Regions from separate parts of the Homo sapiens genome. Here region 2 is linked to region 1. Evidence: promoter capture Hi-C in human tissues and cell types (Jung and others, 2019). All regions are on one chromosome and are shown on one strand. The core of a region is centred on a gene start or on the middle of the fragment in contact, and the rest is flanking DNA. Distances in the headings are between cores, read along the strand shown. Region 1 holds the start of CAPZA3 (capping actin protein of muscle Z-line subunit alpha 3). Region 2 holds the start of LOC124902892 (a long non-coding RNA gene).

The links. The method cuts DNA at HindIII sites, captures the fragments that hold promoters and counts their contacts. A contact is called where the count stands out against the background at its distance.
Region 2: a contact is called between a fragment that was not itself captured here and the fragment with the promoter of CAPZA3 in region 1, in 2 of the 25 tissues and cell types used here (hippocampus and mesenchymal stem cells).

The regions. Positions count from the first base shown.
Region 1 is chr12:18,736,123-18,741,413 of GRCh38, forward strand. It overlaps CAPZA3 (capping actin protein of muscle Z-line subunit alpha 3), which reads left to right and starts at 1,997. Exons shown (of 1, transcript NM_033328.3): 1 at 1,997-3,066. The coding sequence starts at 2,147. The coding sequence ends at 3,046. It overlaps PLCZ1 (phospholipase C zeta 1), which reads right to left and starts at 1,890. Exons shown (of 15, transcript NM_033123.4): 1 at 1,810-1,890; 2 at 1,239-1,387; 3 at 99-222. The coding sequence starts at 1,249. The HindIII fragment of the contact is 1,043 bases long and covers 1,410-2,452 here.
Region 2 is chr12:19,276,942-19,282,122 of GRCh38, forward strand. All of the region lies in intron 11 of PLEKHA5 (pleckstrin homology domain containing A5), which reads left to right. It overlaps LOC124902892 (a long non-coding RNA gene), which reads right to left and starts at 1,945. Exons shown (of 3, transcript XR_007063235.1): 1 at 1,856-1,945. The HindIII fragment of the contact is 8,203 bases long and covers 1-5,181 here.

The DNA of each region.
Region 1 (5,291 bases), core at 747-3,246:
GCTTTTCTTCTTAAGAGACTAACCTTTATATGACAATTACTGACATTGGATTAAGTTCCACCTAGGATAGGATAGGCAGGGGGTGGATGTCATCTTACCTTAAAAATCTGTTTCACATGAATATAACTGCACCGAATATCTAATTTTTCAAGTAACCTCTGAGTTTTTTCTAGGTTAATTTTTCCACCTCTGAAGTCATCCTGAATCTTTGACAAAAACCATGTAGAAGCACAAAAAAGTTAAGGAAATTCTCACAGAAAGTCATTGAATATTTAAAATTCCTAAAGAAACATTTGATTTACTGTATTATTTTTATTTTTAAAGAATATGTTTAAAGTAAATTATAGTATAATTGTATGATAAATATTTTTTAAAAAACAAAATTAAGTAGTTACTATGCTATGGTAAAGGTATGAAAGGGCATAGCACAGTAAAAATACAAAAAAAAGAATTAAAGTTAAAATTTGAGAATTGAAGTCATTACTTAGAACATACATTAAAACATTATAACAATCTATTGCCTGAAGGCATGAAGTTGGAAGGCAGCTAGACTTCAAGATCGCCTCTCACCTGACCTCTCTGTTTTAGTTCTCTCTTCCAGAAAGGTGAGCAAATTAACCCTGAATCTTAAGGAAAGTGGAAGCATTAGATGAATTCCTAATATGCCACCGAACACAGTTTCTGCTACTTAGTGTTCAATAAATAGTAACCATGACTGATAAAGTTATTATTACTACATTAGTCCAATGCCCAGCTACACACACACTCAAGACAGTACCATCAAAAAGCATCAGAAATACCATGGTGAGTGTATATTTGGTATGAAAAACGAAAAAAATTTTTAAAAGCTTACTTATCATAGATAAACTACAAAAACTAGGACACTTCCATTTGAAAAACTAAGATCGAAATGAGATAATGACAATTATCACTAAAATTATAAAAGGTATAGGTAAAAATTGTGCAAAACTACTAAGTTTCAGATTGTTAGAACGAATTAATGAGATCTCCTTAAATTTAATAGTTATGACTTAATCCAGCAAAGCTCATGTTCTTGTAAGAAAAAGATACCAGAATGCAGGGAAAGTTAGAAAAGCTCAGAACAAACAGGGAAAAGCAGTTCAACTTAAATGAAGAGGACTTAAATTCAGAACTCCTCGAAAAGAATAACAGCATCAAGTAAAGAGGATAAGTAGGAGAAAGAAGAAGAGGAGCAGAAAGAAGCTCTCAATGGATATCTCATTTCCATAGTTTCATGACCTGTAGAGCCGTTTCTCCTCACTTAGAAGTCTTTCCCCAGTAGGTGCTGTCATGGGTTCCAAATACAATTAACTCTGCCCCTTTGCAGAAAATAATTTCTTGATACTCATCAGCTGTTACCACTTTTCTAGGGAGAAAGCAGAGAACACACAGTGGTTTTTTTTGCCTTCGTTCTTTGAAGCTAGCTCACACTTAACCATAGAAACAGTATGCAAGATGTGGTACCTGCACTACCCTGCCCTTGAAACTGTTTGGCTTCTTACGTTCTGACCACCTCCAAACCCACAATATTTGAAAACACAGCTTTCCCTGATGTCTGGCATTTTTCCATGAACTGCCATTGTATCTCCTTTTATTTTTTACTACTTTGTTTAAACCCCTCAAACCTTTCATCATAATATGCTTCCAGTGGGTTTGGGCAGCTACTCTGAGAGCCTGAGTATAAATCAACACCATTGTGATTCCTGAAGTTGCAAAGTGCTGTCACTCTTGAAACTTTGGGCTGCTTCTCTAGATCGTTGACAACATATAATGCACACAGAGACACACCACTTTCGAAGAAGACTGTTCAGGAGGCTAAGTTCTTAAAATCTTCAAAAGAGGTATAGCTGGTTGGCTGGGCACCACACTGTCAGGTGACTGTCATTTTTTCCTTTTGGTCTGAATTCCCATTGTGATATCATCAGAGGTTCCACACTTCACAAGGAAAGCTTCTTATGACCTCATCAGGAGGCTCAGACCTTGCCAGACTGCCTGCTTTCATGGATAGACATAAAAACCTTCAGCTTGAATGTTAACACCTTGATGGGAAAGGTGGCTCATGGAATGTTTTCTTATCCTTTGAACACTCCTCATTTCAGAAGCTTTGCTTCTGTTGCAACCAAACATGACACTTAGCGTGCTGAGCAGGAAGGACAAGGAAAGAGTAATTCGCAGACTGTTATTACAGGCCCCTCCAGGGGAATTTGTAAATGCCTTTGATGATCTCTGTCTGCTTATCCGTGATGAAAAACTTATGCACCACCAAGGTGAGTGTGCAGGCCACCAACACTGCCAAAAATATTCTGTACCACTCTGCATCGATGGAAATCCAGTACTCTTGTCTCACCACAATGTAATGGGCGACTACCGATTTTTTGACCATCAAAGCAAACTTTCTTTCAAATATGACCTGCTTCAAAATCAGCTGAAAGACATCCAAAGTCATGGTATCATTCAGAATGAGGCAGAATACCTGAGAGTTGTTCTTCTGTGCGCCTTAAAACTGTATGTGAATGACCACTATCCAAAAGGAAATTGCAACATGCTGAGAAAAACTGTCAAAAGTAAGGAGTACTTGATAGCTTGCATTGAAGATCACAACTATGAAACAGGAGAGTGCTGGAACGGACTTTGGAAATCTAAATGGATTTTCCAAGTTAACCCATTTCTAACCCAAGTAACGGGAAGAATATTTGTGCAAGCTCACTTCTTCAGGTGTGTCAACCTTCATATTGAAATATCCAAGGACCTGAAAGAAAGCTTGGAAATAGTTAACCAAGCTCAACTGGCTCTAAGTTTTGCAAGGCTTGTGGAAGAGCAAGAGAACAAATTTCAAGCTGCAGTCTTGGAAGAATTACAGGAGTTATCCAATGAAGCCCTGAGAAAAATTCTACGAAGGGATCTTCCAGTGACCCGCACTCTTATTGACTGGCACAGGATACTCTCTGACTTGAATCTGGTGATGTATCCTAAATTAGGATATGTCATTTATTCAAGAAGTGTGTTGTGCAACTGGATAATATAAAGAATTGCTCCTGGTAACTATCTTGATTTGACTTGTTTGTGTTTCTTGGGAATGGTTATTTTCCTAAAATTGAGCAATCTGTAGAGATGTCTCTCACTTAGCCAATGCAAATTTAAATGGGAAAAGTGTAGCAAGTAATTTTACTTGGGGAATATTTATGAACAAGGCAAGAAAGTGTAAAGTAACTGTGTTTCATGGTGGTGACCATCATAAAGACCAAGACATTTGTTAGAAACTAAAATAGTTTTATAGAATCTGGGATTCCAGAAATAGTATAGAGGTGGCCAGGGTTAAGGCTGTGTGTGGGTGTGTACGTGTGTGTGTGTGTGTGTGTGTGTGTGTGTGAGAGAGAGAGAGAGAGAGAGAGAGAGACTTTTGACTGTTTCGAACTGAAAAGGTATACAAATGAATATCACTCCACAAATGATATTTTACATAACTCAATTCAGTCCTAGACCATCCACGAGATGGGGAATTTCAATAAAAGACATTAGGTTTGGATTTTCCACAAAACCAACAGATATCAAAAATCTAGCTCAGATGAAGGACTATTAGTAATTTTGGCTCCTCTTCCACTCTACTTTCTTCCCCTCAAGAATTGGGGTTACTCAAAATCCCTGGCTTGTCTGATAACTAACATGGTCTTCCAAGCCAACCAGAGAAGCCTGACTTCCCAAACTTTTACAGCCAGGCTTTTGTGAAGTCGTCACTGTAAACACTTAGAAGTACTTATTACATAACATGGCTTGTGCTAAATATTTTGCATAACATTTTTCATCACTAATCTGGTACTAGTATTATCTCCGTTGTACCTAAGAAAAACCTAAGTTCTCAAGTTGTTCACATCTTCCAGACACATAGTGTCACAGTTCACTTGTGCTGCTATAACAAAATACCATATATTGAGTAACTCACAAATAACAGGAATTTATTGGTCGCAGTTATGGAGGCTGTGAAGTCCAAGACCAAGTTGCTAGCAGATTTAGTGCCTAGTAAAGGTGTGTTTCCTCATAGATAGGACTTTCTGACTGTGACCTTACATGGTAAAAGGGGCAAAGCAGCTCTGTAGAACTTCTATTAATGGCACTAATATCGTTTATGAGGGCTCCACTCTCATGGCCAATCACCTCCCAAAGTCCTCACCTCCTAATACCATCACCTCGGGGACTCAGTTTCAACATATAAATTTTGAGGGACACAAACAATCAGACCGTACCACATAGTGACAAGTGTATCTGACTTAGTGCTCATGCTTCAGGGTACAACAGTTCCCCATGGAAGCCTATTTCATTATGAGTTATGGACTCTGATGTACATTGATTTTGCCAAGCATTCCACCTTAAAGGATATCCCAGAAGAAATGGAACTTGTGACAGCTGTTTTCTAGCCAGAGTAAATCACCTATACACTCACCCTACCACTATTCCTAGCAATGTTACTGACCACTGGTATCTGCTCTTTCAATAAATTCCCAAATGTAAAACTCTTTAACAAGATTACAGTACAGCAGTAGGTAGGCCCCATCCTCCAATTCTGATTTATCTAAGAAGCAAAGTGTTTTGTATTTTGTGTTTATGCAATTGAAAAACAGTTCTAATTCTACTTATTAACATTGGAGCATTCAGATCCCGTGCAAGAATTTCTAAACCTCAAACCTCCCCAGCTGATGATTCTTAGAGAATCTCAGGAGAATAACCTGGGATTTATCTTTAAAAATATACATTACTGGGGCCCATCCTAGGATTCTGATTTAGTAGGCTGGGAAATCTGCATTTTAGCAAGTATCAGAGGTTACACTGATGCAAAATATTTCAGGGCCACATTTTAAGAAATGTTCCCTAATCTTAAAATAGCATGTCCTGTGCTTTCTCTTTACTTAATTAAAATCATTTCCCACAAAACCATAGCCCAGTGAAGGCCATTGCTACCACTTTACTGCATTTACTATGCACAGACCAAGGACGGGCCTTGCCATGTAAAAAAGGTAAAAACAAACTTTCTAAAGAAAAGCAGAAAAGAAAGTTGCTCTCATAGCACTAAAATACAGCCATCCAGTGAAGCCTTAAGCAAAAATTTGAATTGATATTATGGTTATATGTGTAAGGGTTGATTTTCCAGATCATTGCAGATTAGGACCCAGTGGTTTGTGGGATAATTACAGAGGCATTTAGCTCCTGCTTTAACATAGGGTTTTTTTAAGTAATATTTGTTGATAATTCTGAATATAAAAGTCACATGTACAAAT
Region 2 (5,181 bases), core at 1,151-3,650, 540 kb after region 1:
AGGGAATTGCACATTAAAGAAACAATTAGGCATTATTTTTCACTTACCAGATTGACCAAAATCATAAATAAAAGAATTAAGGCATAGATGAATAAAAATTAGATTACTTAATGTTGGATGGAATGACAGACATGAATAAGCTTATATATTACTAGCAGGAAAATAAATTAATACAATGTGATTAGACAGAAAAGAAGCAGGAAGCAGGTCTGGGGGGAAAAAAATGAAAGGATGTTTGGAAGTACTTGGGAAAGTAATCACTTTCAGAAAAATTATAAAAATCCAAATCAGAAGATTGGTGCGTCTCTGCTCACCAAGTTAAATCTTACTTCAAAGAAGAATCACTTTTCCCCGAAAATCATACTTTCTTAAGTTTAAAAGTGTATAGAGAGAGTCAACAGATATCTGGAAATTAGAGGATTTTTAAAAATTGTGAAGTATAAATACTAGTTTTAGGTTCCTTTATGAGTGTAATTAATATCAGTAAAGTCTTTCAGTGACTTCTTCCTTTTGGACATACACCAACAGCTTCTGAAGGCTGGTTTTAGGTTATTTTGAGCTAAGATTTTCTCTGGGTTCCTCCTACATTTTTGGGTTAACTGTTATGCCAGTTTTTATAAATACTGTTATTTAGATGTTCTTTTGAAATGGCTTGAGTCCACTTTGGATCATAAGAAAATATCATCTACATTATGATATAAACTTCATCATAAAAATAGTTGTAGTGTTTTATAATGAAATGATTTTTTATTGGTGGAATGAAACAATTGTAATTCAATATATAAATCATTTTTTAAAAAGCTTTATGAAAGTCTTCTATTATTAAAGTTCTGATAGAAAGAAAAAGGTTTAATATTTAGTCAAAATAGTAGATCCCTGCATCTGTGAACAAAGCTTTAAAGTTTCATTCTGAGTGGCAGGCACTGTTAAGATGCATGGTCCTTAAGCCATTGTTCTGCATGGCAGAATCACAGGGAAAGGGCTTTTATGGTGCTTGACAGGCAGCTGCTGGCCAATGGGGCACTAAATCTGATGTAGGAGCTTAGAGTGTTCATTTCTTAAGCTTTCAGTTAAAAGTAAATCACACTTTGCTTAATTTGAATTTCTTTGGGGAAAAAAGTCACTAAAGGGAATTGTAGTTTTGAAAAACAGGTCTCAAAGTGCTAGAAATATATGGGATAAAAATAAATTTGCTTGATAATAATTTAATTTTTAATTAAAATTCCCCAAATGTGGTTCCAAAGATGACAGAAGAGCCTTTTAATGTCATTAATTAGGCAAGCTTACTAAAAATATATATATCCTGCTGTTAATGATCATATGATAGTTGACAGTTCAGGTTCAATATACGTCTCTACAACAGGGTCCAACCCAAACATTATGAATACTTCAGAGCACTTGACAAAAGTGTTTTAGTGTAATTATATTTTTGAACTATAATTTAGATATTAGTTTATAAGCAACTTTGGGTGTGTTTTAGATTGATAATGTATGTCCCCTTCCTTACATGTTTCTATGATATAGCTCAGTGCTTAATCTCTAGCTTTTTGCATATTAAGCCTCCTGTAGTATTTCTTCAATTTATGAATGACCAAACAAACCAAGGTGTGTCAGAGTAAATTGCTTTAGTACTAGGGCAGTCTCTTTGATGGAGTCAGCTTTCCCTAGCTGACATATTTGCACATAGTCATGGGATTGCCAGCTCTGGATGTTTTCCAGTTTCTGGCTTTCGTGTGATAGGAGACGGTGAAGATGGGGAGGAAGACCAAGCAGAAACAAAATAGGAAATACCCATGGAGGGAAAGCCTCAAGGAATTGAACTCTTTATACTGGTTATATAAGAGCAATTGGGTACCTTTCTCCCTCTCTCCACCCCGAAGGCATCGAATCGGATGGTTGGCCTGAATGCAGCGGTTCTTGTCTGGAGACATTTCGTTCAATTTTGAACAACCTCTTTTTGAGTAGAGACATTGAAATCCTGAAGAACAACCACCATGATGAAGGAAATTTAGTTTAGGAGAAACGGTTGAAAGAATTAGAAATATTTAAAATACAAAATAAGGCATAGAATTTTAGAGCTCTAGAATAAGTTTATGATGAAATCATCTTCTAGATGAGAAAAGAGGATCCCAGTTTCAGTTGGCCATTGGCTAGATTTTAATAGCATATTAAAGAGCTCTCTGGTGCGATAAGATTATATCCTTCCTAATTTTTAATACCTTTTTATTTTTAACTAAGTCATTGTGATAGATGAGTATGGTTTTTTAAAAATAATATTCATATCGTGGCAAAATTTAAAAATAGAGGGATTTTTTTAAAAAATCAAAAAGTTTAGGGATCACTGGCATAGTTAAAAGAGTGCTGCTTTAGAAAGTAGGAGACCTGCATTTTAGTTCTATTTAGCCCGCAAGCTCTTTCTGTAACCCCAAGTATGATCTCTTGGACCAGGTGTGGCTCACACCTGTAATCCTGGCACTTTGGGAGGCCAAGGTGGTTGGATCACCTGAGGTCCGGAGTTCAAGACCAGCCTGGCCAACATGGTGAAACCCTGTCCCTACTAAAAATACAAAAATTAGCTGGGTGTAGCAGCAGGCACCTGTAATCACAGCTACTCGGGAGGCTGAGGCAGGAGAATCGTTTGAACCTGGGAGACAGGTCCAGTGAGCGGAGATCATGCCATTGCACTCCAGCCTGGACGACAGAGTGAGACTCCATCTCAAAAAAAAAAAAAATACATACATATATATATAAAATCTCTTGGTCTTTTCTCCCCTACTCCCCTACCCTGCCCCCAATATTCTGAAAGCCCCAGAATATGTAACTCATCCAAGGTCTAAGTACTTAATAGGAAAGCAAGAATCAAAACTTGGCTGTCTTGATTTTTGATCAACCACTTTTCCTGTTTTACTGTTTTCCCACTATATCCCCTCTGGATGCTTTAACCCACAAAGAGAAGGTATATTTAACATGAGATTTTTCTCTTAGTGTAAAGGTAACATAATTTTACTGCCCCAATAGACACAAATTATGCCGGCAGTTTATTAATTAGGTGCCTCATAGTCCAGAATGCACTTAATTCATCACAATGAAACCTGTTTTTTTTTTTTTTTTTTTTTTTTTTTTTGGAGACAGGGCCATCCCTCTGTTGGCCAGGCTGGAGTACAGTGGCACAATCTCAGCTCACTGCAACCTCTGCCTCCTGGGTTCAAGCAGTTCTCCTGCCTCAACCTCCCGAGTAGCTGGGAGTGCAGGAGCATGCTACCACACCTGACTAATATTTTCTAGTTTTTGTAGAGACGGGATTTTGCTATGTTGAACTCCTGACCTCAAGTGATCCACCCGCCTTGGCCTCCCAAAGTGCTGGGATTACAGGGGTGAGCCGCTGCACCCAGCCTGAAATCTTTTTGTAACTATAATATATCAGTATTTGTGCATTGTTACTGACAGGTCTTTGGGTCAAAAGAGAGCTCTTATATCCAGATTATCAGCGAAGGATTCCCAGATTATTAAGAGTATGGTCAAATGATTTTCCCATCAAATATTTAATCCCTTCGGGTCCATGTAATTACCAATATCTCTGACATTTTCACAACCAGTAGGAGCCCATGTAATATTAGGAAAAAGTTGTTAACTAAACATTGAAAGAAGAGATCAGAAAACCTGAGTTTGTGGAGTCCCAACCCTTCCACATACTTGGTTCATTGAATTCTGTTGATTTTGATATTAGGATATAAATTTATGCCTATGGAGATGATTGTATAAGATGAATACTTGTAATTTAATTTTTCTTTTTCTTTTTTTTTTTTTGAGACAGAGTGTCTGTCACCAGCACGATTTCAGCTCACTGCAACCTCCACCTCCCAGGTTTAAGTGATTCTCCTGCCTCAGCCTCCCGAGTAGCTGGAACTACAGGCGTGCGTCACCACACCTGGCTGATTTTTGTATTTTTAGTAGAGACAGGGTTTCACCATGTTGGCCAAGCTGGTCTTGAACTCCTGGCCTCAAGCGATCTGCCTGCCTCAGCCTCCCAAAGTACTGGGATTACAGGCGCAAGCCACCACGCCCAGCCTAATCTTACTTTTTCTAATCTAGATGTTTCTTGTTCTGGTGGTGGTTAAAAAGTTACGTTTGGGAAAAATAAAAAATTAGCCACACATGGTGGCATATATCTGTAGTCCTAGCTACTTAGGAGGCTGAGGCAGGAAGATCACTTGAGCTCAGGAGGACCGGGCTGCAGTGTACTCCACTGCACTCCAGCCTGGGTGACAGAGTGAGAATCCATCTCAAAAAAAAAAAAAAAAGTATGTTTGTATTTAGAATTTGAATTATACCTACACCTCTGTATCTAAAGGAAATGGAGGCCAGGCGCTCACTCCTGTAATCCTGGCACTTTAGGAGGCTGAGGCAGGCAGATTGCCTGAGCTCAGGAGTTTGAGATCGCCCTGGGCAACATGGCAAAACCCCATCTCTACAAAAGTACAAAAAATTAGCTGGGCATGGTGGCTGGTGCCTGTAGTCCCAGCTACTCAGGGGCCTGAGGCAGGAGAATCACTCGAACCTGAGAGGCGGAGGTTGCAGTGAGCTGAGATTGTGCCAATGCACTTCAGCCTGGGCAACAGAGCAAAACACTATCTCCAAAAAAAAAAAAAGATAATAGGGAAACACAAATGCTAACTTTACGTAGAGTTTTTAATTGATTCTTTTTTTTCTGGCTCACTTCTCCCCTAACTTTTAAAAATCTTTTTTATATCATGAATTTCACCTAGTATGAAGTTGGCACTGTGATAGTTTTATAAACTCAAAAGAGTATGTTTATCAAAGTGGTTTTTGTTGTTGTTGTTGTTGTTGTTGTTGTTTTGAGATGGAGTCTCACTCTGTCGCCCAGGCTGGAGTGCACTGGCGCGATCTTGTCTCGCTGCAAGCTCGGCTTCCTGGGGTCACGCCATTCTCCTGCCTCAGCCTCCCAAGTAGCTGGGACTACAGGCACCTGCCACCACGCCCGGCTAATTTTTTTGTATTTTTCGAAGAGACGGGGTTTCACTGTGTTAGCCAGGATGGTCTCGATCTCCTGACCTCTTGATCCGCCTGCCTCCGCCTCCCAAAGTGCTGGGATTACAGGCGTGAGCCACTGCGCCCGGCCCAAAGTGGTTTTTTTAAAAATAGTAAACTGAAATTGTATTC